Regions from separate parts of the Homo sapiens genome. Here all the other regions are linked to region 2. The links are contacts of gene promoters, found by promoter capture Hi-C in blood cells and fetal thymus (Javierre and others, 2016). All regions are on one chromosome and are shown on one strand. The core of a region is centred on a gene start or on the middle of the fragment in contact, and the rest is flanking DNA. Distances in the headings are between cores, read along the strand shown.

The links. Contacts are between HindIII fragments. The CHiCAGO score rates a contact against its expected background, and 5 or more counts as called.
Region 1: the fragment with the promoter of CTRB2 here is called in contact with the fragment with the promoter of CHST6 in region 2 in 6 of 17 cell types (endothelial precursors, M1 macrophages, M0 macrophages and 3 more); the score reaches 9.8 in endothelial precursors.
Region 3: a contact is called between a fragment that was not itself captured here and the fragment with the promoter of CHST6 in region 2, in 6 of 17 cell types (total CD4 T cells, naive CD8 T cells, total CD8 T cells and 3 more). The highest score is 9.3, in total CD4 T cells.
Region 4: a fragment that was not itself captured here is called in contact with the fragment with the promoter of CHST6 in region 2 in 1 of 17 cell types (total B cells); the score reaches 5.5 in total B cells.

Annotation. Positions count from the first base shown.
Region 1 is chr16:75,205,096-75,208,835 of GRCh38, reverse strand. CTRB2 (chymotrypsinogen B2) reads left to right here and starts at 1,675. Exons shown (of 7, transcript NM_001025200.4): 1 at 1,675-1,746; 2 at 2,643-2,746; 3 at 2,844-2,923; 4 at 3,016-3,094; 5 at 3,323-3,503. The coding sequence starts at 1,695. RefSeq lists an enhancer at 1-193 and a silencer at 1,866-2,085. The HindIII fragment of the contact is 10,617 bases long and covers 1-3,740 here.
Region 2 is chr16:75,494,025-75,497,379 of GRCh38, reverse strand. It overlaps CHST6 (carbohydrate sulfotransferase 6), which reads left to right and starts at 1,939. Exons shown (of 3, transcript NM_021615.5): 1 at 1,939-2,440. RefSeq lists a silencer at 1,736-2,065 and an enhancer at 2,366-2,545. The HindIII fragment of the contact is 1,836 bases long and covers 600-2,435 here.
Region 3 is chr16:75,755,143-75,758,720 of GRCh38, reverse strand. No RefSeq gene overlaps it. Among named protein-coding and RNA genes, the nearest start is that of CPHXL, 30 kb to the right of the region's middle. RefSeq lists an enhancer at 408-457. The HindIII fragment of the contact is 932 bases long and covers 823-1,754 here.
Region 4 is chr16:75,776,805-75,780,022 of GRCh38, reverse strand. The region is part of intron 2 of LOC105371348 (a long non-coding RNA gene); the gene reads right to left. Among named protein-coding and RNA genes, the nearest start is that of CPHXL, 52 kb to the right of the region's middle. The HindIII fragment of the contact is 9,840 bases long and covers 1-3,218 here.

The sequences.
Region 1 (3,740 bases), core at 426-2,925, 290 kb after region 2:
TAATAATGAGAAGAAGAACTCTTTAGCTGCTGGTGTGTGTATTTTACTTATTTTAAAAATTGACTCTCTTCCCTAAACTCTCCAGCCTCCTCCCGGCTGTCAGCTGCCACACGCAGGAATTTGTTGGTTTTGTTCAGCTGTTCCCGTGGGCCTGGTGGGCACTGGCTGGCAGGAAGAGCCCATGTGCATGCAGAGGTGGGTGCGTCTCATCCCGACCAGGCCATGCTCCGTCCTGCTGGTGCCCGCCAACCCCTCTGTCCTCAGACAATCTTCTAGAATGAGCGAAGGGCCTGAACAGGTGATTCACTCAAGAAAGAGGAATGTAGGGGCCCCGCCAGCGTGGATTGCATGCTTGGCCTGGTCCTGGTGCTCAAGAAGGCTCTTCCTTTTGTCATGGGACCCATACTCTAAGCATCCTCAATTACATACAGGATCAGAGAGGGCAAGTCATTTGCCCACGGCTCCACAGCTGCCTGACCCCACAACCCGTGCTGTAAACACACATGCTGCAGGCATCAGTGTGGTGGAATTGAAAACAGCCACGAGGCACCTTTTCCTGTGCATTTTGGGGAACTTGCCCTCCATCTGGCAGCCTCAATCCAAAATTTCTCCCTCCCCCGTTTCCCAGTTGCTGAGAAAGGGCTCCACCACCCATGCTGCCACCCGCACGAGGAACCAGGTGTCCCCGCCCATGCTCTGCCCTGAGGCTCAGCCTCCATCAGTTCTCATCAGGGCGATGCCAGGCCCCCAGGCCGGGCCCTAGGCCCAGTCTTGCCCTCTGATGCCACCTGCTCAGCTCCAGGGCCCAGGTGTGCTGGCGCCTGTGTGCAGGGGTGGCCCAGTGTGAGGACAGCAGGTAGCTACCCCTCCCCTGTACACAGCCCAAGTGACCAACACAGATGTCGACTGGGCCTTCACTGAGCCTTCTTAGCCATCCCCTGGGACCCGGCGAGCACCCGCACCCCAGCCTCTGGCTACACCATGGGGCACAGGCCTGCTCCCCCAGCCTCTCCTCTACTTGGTCACATTGCCCATTGGGTTTTTTTCTTTTTTTTTGTTTTTTTTCCTTTTTTGAGACAGTCTCACTGTCACAAGGCTGGAGTGTAGTGGCGCAATCTCGTCTCACTGCAACCTCCGCCTCCCGGGTTCACACCATTCTCCTGCCTCAGCCTCCCAAGTAGCTGGGAATACAGGTGTGCGCCACCACGCCTGGCTAATTTTTTGTATTTTTAGTAGAGACGGAGTTTCACCATGTTGGCCAGGATGGTCTTGATCTCTTGACCTCGTGATCCATCCGCCTCAGCCTCCCAAAGTGCTGGGATTACAGGCGTGAGCCACCATGCCCGGCCTGCCCAGGGGTTTTCAAACCATGAAAAGATCAAGTGAATTCTTTGCAGAGCACAAGAGACTCAGCTGGGGCTCAAACCCGGGGATGCTGGACTCAGCCCCTGGAGGCCCCTGCCCAAGCCTGGGCCTGGAGGAGAAAGGCAATGGTCGAAGGCCACCTGGGTTAGCCCGGCTCAGCTAAGGCCACAGCTGCTGCCATCCCAGGCTTCCTGGCCAGCCCTGCACCGACACATCTTGCCCACTCCCAGGGAAGGGATTATCGCCCCAAGGTCTCCAGATAACAGCAGGCACACAGGGCTATAACGGGGACCGGCAGACAGGCGTCCTACACCCCTGCCAGCGGCACCATGGCTTTCCTCTGGCTCCTCTCCTGCTGGGCCCTCCTGGGTACCACCTTCGGTGAGTGCCAGGCCCTGCGGAGGCCGAAGGGTTTTCTCCTCTCACTCCCAGCCCCGAGGCCAGCAAGAGGCAGCAGGGTCCCAGCTCCCAGTTCAGCTGTGCACCGCAGTGTGGGCCTGGGCGAGTCACCGGCTCCATCTCTGCCGTGGGCGCTGAGAGGTCAATGCCTCCCTCCCAGGCTCAGCTGCCGCCTCTGAGCTCAGGAGATGGGGAGTCCCGCTCCCCTTCCTCACCCCCAGCAGACCTGAGGCTCTCAGGGGAGGAGGCGGGGGGAGGAGGCAGGTGTCCGGGGGCTGCCCTGAGGCCTTCGGGAAACCCCCAAACAGTCAGCGGCCCCAGCACAGGTTTGGGTGGTGAATGTGTGGGCAGCTGGGGCTTGGCACCGTTCAGTCCAAACCTTTCAGAACCTCGAGCCTCACCCTCTTAAACTCCTGCTCACGGAGCACTTCCCGGGTGCCAGGCGCAGAGCTGGCGCTCTGCCTGCTCACTCTACCAAACCTGTGAGGTCAGAAACAGCGTGATCCCCACTTTGCTGATGGGGACACTGAGTGGCTTAGCTGGGCAGGGAGGGAGCCAGGTTCAAACCCACAGAGTCTGGCCTCCCAGACTGAGCGCCGGGGCTGCCGCCCACCGCACGCTCCACCTGTGTGACTTCTCCGAACTGAGGTGGGGCCAACACCCCATTCCTCAGCAGCCCACAGCCCAGTTCATTGGACTCAGTTGTACCTGGGGATTCCAGCTCTGCGGAGAGGAGAGCCAGGGCCAACTTCTCAGAGAAGGGGATGTGGGAGCCAGTCTAGGTCCCAGAGACTGGAAAAGAGTTGGGAGTGAGAGGAGGCTGGAGCATTAGGACCTGGGTGGGTGGTACCCACCCCTCAGCCCACTCCCGCCCCCAGGCTGCGGGGTCCCCGCCATCCACCCTGTGCTCAGCGGCCTGTCCAGGATCGTGAATGGGGAGGACGCCGTCCCCGGCTCCTGGCCCTGGCAGGTGTCCCTGCAGGTGAGGGGGTTCTGCAAGGTGGGGGGCACCCTGGGTAGGGGCCAGGCTGGGGGTGCCCCCGGGTGGGAGGTGCTGACCCTCCCCATCTTGCTCACAGGACAAAACCGGCTTCCACTTCTGCGGGGGCTCCCTCATCAGCGAGGACTGGGTGGTCACCGCTGCCCACTGCGGGGTCAGGTGAGGACCGGGCAGCCTTGGGCTCCGCTTCCAGCACCGGTCGGGTGGGAGGGGAGCAGGGCATGTTCTCTCACCCACAACGCTCTGCCCAGGACCTCCGACGTGGTCGTGGCTGGGGAGTTTGACCAGGGCTCTGACGAGGAGAACATCCAGGTCCTGAAGATCGCCAAGGTACCCAGGCCCCGTGCAGCAGAGGGCAGGGCCGTGGGCACGGGGGGAGACCCCTCGGCTGCTTCAGGGACAGGCGCCCAGTGGGGCCGGGCCGGCCTCGTGATTCCCATTCCGGCCCTGGGGATGGACTGCTCCTTAACGGGCACCAGGGAAGGAGTCTGTCCTCGAAGCCTGCAGGTCCTGCCTCCTCCCAGGGCCTCACCCCGGCACTCTGGCCCCCACCCCCAGGTCTTCAAGAACCCCAAGTTCAGCATTCTGACCGTGAACAATGACATCACCCTGCTGAAGCTGGCCACACCTGCCCGCTTCTCCCAGACAGTGTCCGCCGTGTGCCTGCCCAGCGCCGACGACGACTTCCCCGCGGGGACACTGTGTGCCACCACAGGCTGGGGCAAGACCAAGTACAACGGTGAGGGGCCGCGGGGCTGCCTCTGGGGTCTGGGCTGCCTGGCCGTGGAGTCCCCCCGTGACCGTTTGGCTCTAAATTCCAACACGCTCCTAACTGCCCGTTCGTTATTGAAAATCTTCTGAATTTAAAATCCCCCAAATGCAAATAAAATCCAGGTCGGATCATGAGGAGCCTGCACAGGGAGCTTCTGAGCAGCGCCCGGCCGGGTGAGCCCTGCCCTGGCTGACCTGCCTGGAG
Region 2 (3,355 bases), core at 690-3,189:
ATTCATGCTTTGTAAAGAGGTTTTGGAGCTTTCTGGCCAGATAACTTCTAAATACTGATTAAGGAAATGTAAATTACATGATCCTAAGGAAAATAATGATTGCCGGCCAATCCCCTACCCAGAGTTATGGTTGGCCTTCTGGCACACATCTTTCTATCCCATACACTATTTCTAACTTTTTAAAAATCATGAACAGGCCGGGCACGGTGGCTCATGCCTGTAATCCGAGCACTTTGGGAGACAGAGGCGGGCAGATCACATCTGAGCTCAGGAGTTCGAGACCAGCCTGGACAACATGGTGAAACCCTGTCTCTACTAAAAGTACAAAAATTAGCCTGGCGTGGTGGTGGGCACCTGTAATCCCAGCTATTCAGGAGGCTGAGGCAAGAGAATCACTTGAACTCGAGAGGCGGAGGTTGCAGTGAGCCTAGATCCTGCCATTGCACTCCAGCCTGGGCTACAAAAGTGAGACTCCATCTGAAAAAAAAATCAGTATCAAAATCATGAACAACACTTATATGAACCCTGTACATAAATCCTTGTTTCTGGTTTATTTCCTTAAGATAGCTCCTAGAAAGGAATTACCAATCCGAAAAGCTTACGACCATTGTCAAGAATCTTAATTCATCTTGCCAAACCACAACCAGGAAGGACTGCTTATTTCTTCTCCCAGCAGCAGGGAGTTCTTGATTAAGATCCCATCACTAATTTGACAAGACCTAGAAATGCTTCATCCTTTTCAGGTGCCTGGGCTCTGCCCTGTTATTTGTAAAGGGGATTTTTTTTTTTTTTTTTTTTGAAACAGTTTCGCTCTGTCGCCCAGGCTGGAGTGCAGTGGTGCAATCTCAGCTCACTGCAACCTCCGCTTCCTGGGCTCAAGCAGTTCTCCTGCCTTAGCCTCCTGAGTAGCTAGGATTACAGGTGCCTGCCACCACGCCCGGCTAATTTTTGTATTTTTAGTAGAGACGGGGTTTCACCCTGTTGGCCAGGCTGGTCTCGAACTCCTGACCTCGTGATCCACCCACTACGGCCCCCCAAAGTGCTGGGATTACAGGCGTGAGACACCGCGCCTGGCCGGATTTTTTTTTTTTTTTTTTGCGAGGGAGTCTCGCTTTGTCGCCCAGGCTGGAGTGCAGTGGTGCGATCTCGGCTCACTGCAAGCTCCGCCTCCCGGGTTCACGCCATTCTCCTGCCTCAGCCTCCCGAGTAGCTGGGACTACAGGTGCCCGCCACCAGGCCTGGCTAATTTTTTTGTATTTTTAGTAGAGACGGGGTTTCACTGTGTTAGCCAGGATGATTTCGATCTCCTGACCTCGTGATCCGCCCGCCTCGGCCTCCCAAAGTGCTGGGATTACAGGCGTGAGCCACCGCGCCCAGCCCTGGCCGGAAATATCTTATTTATTGAAACGTATCATGTCTTTATCTGGACCTGCTATGAACCTGCGCCTCTGGGCCTAGGCTAGGGCAGGGAATGCGCAGGAGGAGGGGAAAAGCTGCGGACCCAGCTCCTAAGGCCACCTGGTCTCTCCGCTCTTCCCAGTTGGGACACTGCACCGGGTCCATGTGTCATCCAGGTGCCGTGGCCTTGGGAAGGGTTTGGATTCCAAGTCACCTCGCCGCAAGGATGCCCCCGAGAGTGAGGAGGGTCAAGATTAAGATTCGACTTCCTTCACTAGGGCCTTTGTCCTCCCAGGAGCCCCCCTTCTCTGGGGATTTGGGGTGGGGTGGGGTACAACGTTCCTCTGTAGTCAGATGAGAGGTGACTCTGCCAGCGCCCTTTGACATTCTGGGCTAAAAGTTGAGCCTCTCAGAGCCCCAGCCCACCTGGGCCCTCCTGCCCCGCCCTCGGCCGGCGCCCCTCCCCCGAGGCGTGGCCCCTCGGTCGGGGGTGGGCCAACCGGCTCCTTCCTTCCCCCACGGCGCTAGCTCCCGCTGGCCACCTCGGGACCGCAGCCACGTCTGAAAGCGCCTCATTGTGTGCGCTCGGGCGGGCTGCACCGGGCAGCGCCGAGGGTTGCCGGCCGGCGCGCGGGGAGTAGAGGGCGCGGGCCGCAGTGCCGGGTTCCAGAGGGAGCTCTGCGCCGGGTCCTTCCCTGTGGTAGCCCCAGGACACCCCCAGCCTCAACATCCCATTCTGGGACTCCTGCCCTGTTCCCACATTCGTTCTACCTCGAGTCTCCAGGAGCTTCCAGTGGCTTGGTCACCGCCAACTCTCGTCCATGCCTCTTAGAGCCCCTTTCCCGGCCTCACCGGGTGTCGCTTAATAGTCTTGGGACCTTAAGGAGCAAGTCAGCCCCTGCGGACCCTCCCAGTGAAGAGAAAGAGCTGGCTGTGCGGTGGAATTTGGAAGAGACGACGTTTGGGAGCCTTTGCTGAGTCCAGGGAGAGAGGCGTCCCCCACCGTGCCGCTGCAGCTCGGGCAGAGCCGCCAAGCTTTGGGGTACGTTGGTTCTTCATTCTCCGCGGGGGATGTCCCCACACTCGGGTCGGCTGGGGGCCGGGCTGGTGGCACAGCTGGGGACGCTCCTCTGTCCTGCACCGGGGACCTGGGGTGGCGGGAAGAGCTGGGAGTGGCTTTTCCATCAGCAACGTGGAAAGGGCATCGCCGCTGTTGGCGCCGGTTTGGAAGTGTCTTGCTGGGGCTTCGGCTGCGCAGGAGAATCCTCACTGCGAGGGGAGAACCCCTTTTGTCTCGATACTTGAGTTTCAAAGGACATGACTTTCAAAAGCTCTCCAAGGGCTTTTTCCATAGAATTATTGAGAGACGGTAGCTTGGCGGGTTGATTTGGAACCAGACCCAGGGGAATTGGAGTCCTGCGTCACTGCTTCTGACGGCTTCATCTTGGGCTTCAGGACAGGCCCTCTGGGCCTCAGGACAGGTGCCTAGCAAATGTTGACTTTCCTTTCTCCTCCCTTTTTCACAGAGGCAAGGCAGTCAAGTTTCCCATTTTTGAGGATGGGAAAACTGAGGCCTGAAGAGCAGAAAGGAGTTGGCTGACTTAAACCCACAAGCGAGTAGGCCAAGTACCAGGGCCTCTGAGGGTGCTATGCTGCTCCGGGAGCTGGGGCTGGGCTCCTCTCCAGCCTGAGAGGCCGGAACTTTTCTGGCTTTGTTCTACAAACAGAGTCAACTGGAGTATAGAGAGCCAGAGAGTGACTTGCTCTAAGTCACACCCCTCACTGGTAGTAGAGACAGGATTTGAACCCAATCCGGCTTCAGAAGCCAAGCTTCTAAGGCCAGTCGCAGTGGTTCACGCCTGTAATCCCAGCACTTTGGGAGGCCGAGGCAGGTGGATCACCTGAGGTCAGGAGTTCAAGACCAGCCTGGCCAACATGGTGAAACCCCATCTCTACT
Region 3 (3,578 bases), core at 39-2,538, 260 kb before region 2:
ACCTGATGCTCCTGGTGCTGGCTGCCACAGCTCAGGACCTTCCTTCTATTCAACATGACCACTAGACCACAGTTCCACTGGTCCAGGCCCTGGTCCTCCACCTCCTCCCCTTGTCAGACCTCAGATGTTTAGAGAGTCTTAAAGGGACAGGTCCTAAGAAAAGAAACCTCTGCTCTTCCCCTGTTCCAGAAATCCAGGACACAATTGCCTAGGAATCCTTTTCACCAGGGAGCTTCCCTGGCTGGACACATCCTCCCCATTCTCCTCTGGCCACAAGAAATGTTGGACACCAAGCACTGTCCACTCAGCCTGAAAACGAAAGTGAGTCACCCCTGGATAGATCCCACCTCCCACTGAGCATGCTACTACACAACCACAACCACAAGAGCCCTTTTCCTCTGCTCTACAATAATTTTCATATTTTCTATTTTAGTTTTATTGCCAGTGAGTGATTATATCATGTATAAGATGAAAAAAGACAGGATTCTGCTTCATAATGTGCTCTGCCTGTAGATTATTTCAATAACAACACTAATAAATTAATTACTTCCATTTTATTCTATTTGTAAGTAGCATAATTACAGTTTTATGTTGTTTTTAGCAAAGCCTCTAAAATAATTCAGGAAAACAGCAACTATTTTATTCCAACTTACTTTTTAAATAATTTTATTTGTTTCTCTATTGGTTTTATTGCCATAATTTAATGTATTAATAATTACACATCTCGAAAGAAGACCTGATAGGATTACAATGTTTAGGATTGCAGTTTTAAAATGTGCATGATGTAAATGCAAATTATATTTAACCCTGAGAGCACAAGCTTCCTTCTCACCCCAAACTCCCTTGGGGTGTCCACCGGGAAGCCACCTTAACCTTGACTCTGAAGGGTGTCTCAAGTGGGTTTACAGGTCAAAGCCAACACTCTTCAGTGAGGACCAGCCCCAGACAAAATTATGTGAACACTTTTCGAGGATCCCTGATTCTCTTCCCTGTTCTGTGTCCTCTCTGCCCCATCACAAGCCTGGACTGAGAGTTGGAAGGACCACAAAGGCTAAGTAATCAACCCTTTCCCTATCTCCTCCCTGAACTGTCTCACCTTTACGACTGTGAGGCCAATGTCAGCATTTAAAAACCATAAATAAGACCATGGGCCATGCTGCTCAAAGCCCTCCAGTGCCTACAACTTACACTGAGACTCAAATCTATGCTCTCCTGGCCCATGAGGTTGTCCATGCCCTGGTCCTTGCAGGTGTATACCTACCCAAGCACCTCCTGTGACTCCACTGACCACGATTTTGTCCAGTTAGCATGGCAGGCTCACTAAGTCTCAGAATTTTGCACTGGGCATTTCCTCTGCCGAGAATACCTTTACACCACATATGTGGTGGCTGCCTCCTTCATTTAGATACCAACTCTAATCACGTCTTCTTAAAGTGCCCTTTCCTGACCACTGTAGCTTAGTGATGGTGCTTCCTCATCCCTCTCTGATATGGTTAGGCTCTGTGATCCCACCCAAATCTCATCTTGAATCCCCCTTGTAATCCCCATAACCCCATGTGTTAAGAGAGAGACCAGGTGGAGGTCATTGATTCATGGGTGCAGTTTCCCCCATACTGTTCTCATGATAGTAAGTGAGTTCTCACGAGATCCGATGGTTTTATAAGTGGTAGTTCTTCCTGTATTCACTATCCCTCCTGCCACCTTGTGAAGAAGGTGCCTTGCTTCCCGTTCACCTTCCACCATGATTGTAAGCTTCCTGAGGCCTCCCCAGCCATGCAGAACTCAGAGTCAATTAAACCTCTTTCTTTTATAAATTACTCAGTCTTGAGCAGTTCTTTATAGCAGTATGAGAACGAACTAACACATTTTCTATTCCTTTGGTCCGATTTATTACCTCATAGCACTCATCCTTTCTGAATCATCATATTTCTGTGTTTATTCCTTGTGTATTTTCTGCATCATCCTCTGCACCATATGGGCTGGTGTGGCAGAGAGATTATCTTACTCCCTCTGGGTAGCACAAGACAGCCACTCATTAATGCAGTTTATATAGAAGGCAGGGGAAGCTCAAGTTTGTGGGAAAAGAGGAAAGAGGTGTTAAGGAAAAAGACATGGTAGGATAGCCACTGGCCTCCTGCACCACAGTGTTGAGCAGGGAAGACCTTTGGTGCTTTTGTGTTAATGGAAAAGCTACTGGTCCTCAGAGGCTGAGATTATTTCACTGACTTGGATTGTCCTTAACAATACAAAGGACCTGCAAGTGCTTAACAATCAGCTCTTCCCTGGGTGTCATCGATAATATTCCTTAGGCCCACAACTCACAAAACACAGGATTCCTCTCCCCATCCCATTTATAAAACTGGACTCGGGGTTGGAAAAGACCTCAGACACCAAGCTGCCAGCCTTCCTGTGTTGCCCCCTCTGATATGGTTTGGCTCTGTGTCCCCACCCAGATCTCATCTCAAATTGTAATCCCCATGTGTTGAGGGAGGTAAGTGATTGGATTATAGGGGCAGTTTTCCCCATGCTGTTCTTGTGATAGTGAATAGATTCTCACTAGATCCAATGGTTTTATAAATGGTAGTTTTTCCTACACTCATACATACTCTCTCTCACCTGCTACCATGTAAGAAGTGCCTGCTTCCCCTTCCACCATGATTGTAAGTTTCCTGAGAACTTCCCAGACCCAGACATGCAGAACTGTAAGTCAATTAAACCTCTTTCCTTTATGAATTACCCAGTCTCAGGTATGTCTTTATAGCAGCATAAGAACAGACTAATATACCCTTCTTCCTTCTGGATGACACCACCCAGTCAATCCACTAACAGATGGGTCTGATGACCATGGACTGACTAGAACTCTGGCTTCCTTCAGGGCAGGGCCAAGATAGTTGGCCCAGAGGCACAGACCAGAGTGTAGGCCCAATTTCCCATGACTGACCCTATGAAACTGAGTTATGTTACCACTGCTGCATAGCAGGGCTGCCGTGAGACTTAAACACAGTATTGGGTTTTCCAGGTGCCTTCAATTCAGATTCTGCAGCTGGAAGTGAGCCAGACTTTCAAGAATCTGAGAGTTTCCAGGCAGAGACTCTCGCTCCTTCCTGTTCCCTCTCCTCATCAAGTGACACACTTGTCCCACTAGTATCAGTCAGGGTTTATTTTTCCCCATCCCGAACTATCTCCCCACCCCATCTCACCTACATAACCATGCATCCAGCATAATTTTTCAATAAAATACATGAGATCATGAGACCACGGTTCTCAAAGCCCTCCCGTGTCTCCAACTTGACTGAAACTCAAATCTGTGCTCCTAACTCTCCTCAACGATACCTTACATGCCCTAGTTCTTGAGTGTGTCTGCCCAAACCCATCCTATCTGACCACTGACCTTACCTCTGTTTCCCTAACATACCAAACTCCCTTTCATCTAAGGACCCTGCACTATTTCCTCTGCCAAGAACACCTTTCCCAGATAGGCGAGTGGCTGCCTCTTTCATTTAGACACGAGCTCTGCTCCTATTTTCTGAAGTGCCCTTTCCTGGCCACCACAGACTAGTGATGTGCTTACTGTATCC
Region 4 (3,218 bases), core at 583-3,082, 280 kb before region 2:
TTGCCATGGCAATGGTAAATTCATATGGCACATTAGTGGGTGAATCTGATTAGAAAGCTGCTTCCACCCAAGCCCTGTTTTAGCTAGTCCTCAATCTAGTCCGGTGTTCAAGTCCCACCTCTGGAGTCAAGTCCTGCCTCCTACCTTAAGATGATATCTCATTGTGGTTTTGATTTCAATTTCTCTAATGATCAATGATGGTTATTTTTAATATACTCATTGGTCATTTTTATGTCTTCTTTTCAGAAATGTCTGTTCAGATCTTTTTCTTATTTTTTAATTGGATTTTGTATTCTTGCTATTGAGTTTTTCTAGTTCCTTATATATTCTGGTTGTTAATCCTAGTCAGATGCATAGTTTGCAAATATTTTCCCCCATTCTGTGGGTTATCTCTTCGTTGTGTTGACTGTTTCTTTTGCTGCTTTTTAGTTTGATGTAGTCCCATTTGTCTATTTTTGCTTTTGTTGCCTGTGCTTTTGAAGTCTTACACAAAAAAATATTTGCCCAGATCAATGTCCTGGAGCATTTCCTCAAAGTTTTCTTCTGGTAGTTTTATAGTTTTGGGTCTTATATTGAGGTCTTCAATCCATTTTGATTTTATTTCTGTATAGAGTGACAGACAGGGGTCTGCTTTCATTCTTCTGCATATGGCTATCCAGTTTTCCCAAGACCATTTATTGAGAAGACTGTCCTTTCCCCACTATATCTTCTTTGTTGAAAATGAGTTGATTATAGGCCAGGTGCGGTGTCTCACACCTGTAATCCCAGCACTTTGAGAGGCCAAGGCAGATGGATCGCATGAGGCCAGGAGTTCAAGACAAGCCTGGCCAACATGACAAAACACCATGTCTACTAATGATACAAAAATTAGCCGGGCATGGTGTTACAAGCCTGTAGTCCCAGCTACTCAGGAGACTGAGGCACAAGAATCACATGAACCCACAAGGCAGAGGTTGTAGTGAGCCGAGATCACCCCTCTGCACTCCAGTCTGGGCAACAGAATGAGACTGTCTCATTTAAAAAAAGAAAAAAAAAAGGAAAGAAAGAGAAAGAAAGAAAGAAAGAAAGAAAGAAAGAAAGAAAGAAAGAAAGAAAGAAAGAAAAAAAATGAGTTGGCTGTAAATATATGGGGTTATATCTGAATTCTCTATTCTGTTCCATTCTTCCATGTGTCTGTTTTTATTCCAGTACCAAGATGTTTTTATTAAGATAGCTTTCTAGTATATTTTGAAGTCAGATAATATGATGCCTCTAGCTTTGTTCTTTTTGATCAGGATTGCTTTGGCTATTCGGGGTCTTTTGTAGTTCTATGTATATTTTAGCAGTTTTTTTCTATTTCTGTGAAGAATGTCGTTGATATTTTCATAGAGATTGCATTGAATCTGTAAATGGCTTTGGGTAGTATTGCCATGTTAACAATATTAATTCTTCCAATCCATGAGCATGAACTCTCCTTCCTTTTTTGTGTCCTCTTCAATTTTTCTATCACTCTTTTATACTTTTTCTTGTATAGATCTTTCACTTGACTAAATTGATTCCTAGGTATTTTATATTCTTTGTAGCTATTGTAAATGGAATTGTTTTCTTATTTTCTTTTTCAGATTACTCACTGTTGTCATACATAAATGCTCCTGGTTTTGTATGATTTTGTATCCTGCAGCTATGCTGAATGCATTTATCAGTTCTAACACTTTTTCAGTGGAGTCTTTTGGTTTTTTCTAAATATAAGATCATGTCATCTGTGAATAAGGCTAATTTGACTTCTTCTTTTCTAATTTGGATGCCCTCGATTTTTTTCTCTTGCCTGATTGCTCTAGCCAGGACTTCCAGTATTATGGTGAATTAAAGTGGTGAAAGTAAGCATCCCTGTCTTCTTCCAGATCTTAAAGGAAAGGCTTTCAATTTTTCCCCATTCAGTACATTAGCTGTGGGTCTGTCACATATGCCCTTGATTATTTTGAGGTATGTTCCTTCTATAATCAGTTTTTTTGAGGACTTTTGTCATGAAAAATATATAGATTTTTTTTTCGTTTTTCCTTTTCTTTTCCTTTATTTTTATTTTTATTTTTTTATTTTGTTTTATTTTTTTTTTTGAGACAGGGTCTGGCTCTATCGCCCAGGCTGGAGTGCAGTGGTACGATCACAGCTCACTACAGCTTCAACTTCCTGGGCTCATGCAATCATCCCACCTCAGCCTCCCAAGTAGCTGGGACTGCAGGCCCTTGCCACCACACTCGGCTAATTCTTGTCTTTTTTGTAGAGACAAGGTTTCACTGTATTGCCCAGGCTGGTTTGGAACTCCTGGGCTCAAGCAATCTGCCCTCCTCGGCCTCCCAAAATGCTGGGATTACAGGTGTGAGCCACTGTGCCTGGTGGGATGTAGAATTTTATCAAATGCTTTTTTGACATCTATTGAAGTGATCATATGGGTTTTGTTCTTGGTTCTATTAATGTGAAGTATCATGTTTATTGATTTGCATATGTTGAGCCATACTTACATCCATAGGATGAATCCCATTTGGTCATGATGAATGATCTTTTTAATGTGTGGTTGAATTTGGTTTGCTAGTATTTTGTTGAGAATGTTTATATCTACATTCATCAGTGATATTGGCCTGTAGTTTTCTTTTTTTGTCATGTCCTTGTCTGGTTTTGGTATCAGGTTAATGTCCACCTCATAGAATGAGTTTGGAAGTGTTCTCTCCACTTCAATTTTTTTGAAGAGTTTGAGTAGAAGTGGTATTAGTTACTCTTTAAATGTGTGGTAGAATTCAGCAGCGAAGACATCAGGTACTGGGCTTTTCTTTTATAGGAGACTCTTTTTTTTTTTTTTTTTTTTTTTTGAGACGGAGTCTCACTCTGTCGCCCAGGCTGGAGTGCAGTGGCACGATCTCAGCTCACTGCCAGCTCCACCTCCCGGGTTCACGCCATTCTCCTGCCTCAGCCTCCTGAGTAGCTGGGACTACAGACGCCCGCCACCACGCCCGGCTAATTTATTTTTTGTATTTTTAGTAGAGACAGGTTTTCACCGTGTTAGCCAGGATGGTCTCGATCTCCTGACCTTGTGATCTGCCTGTCTCGGCCTCCCAAAGTGCTGGAATTACAGGCGTGAGTCACCACGCCTGGCCAATAGGAGACTTTTTATTATGGCTTCGATCTCATTACTTATCATTGGTTTGTTAAGGTTTTCCATTTCTTCATGGTTCAGTCTTGGTGGG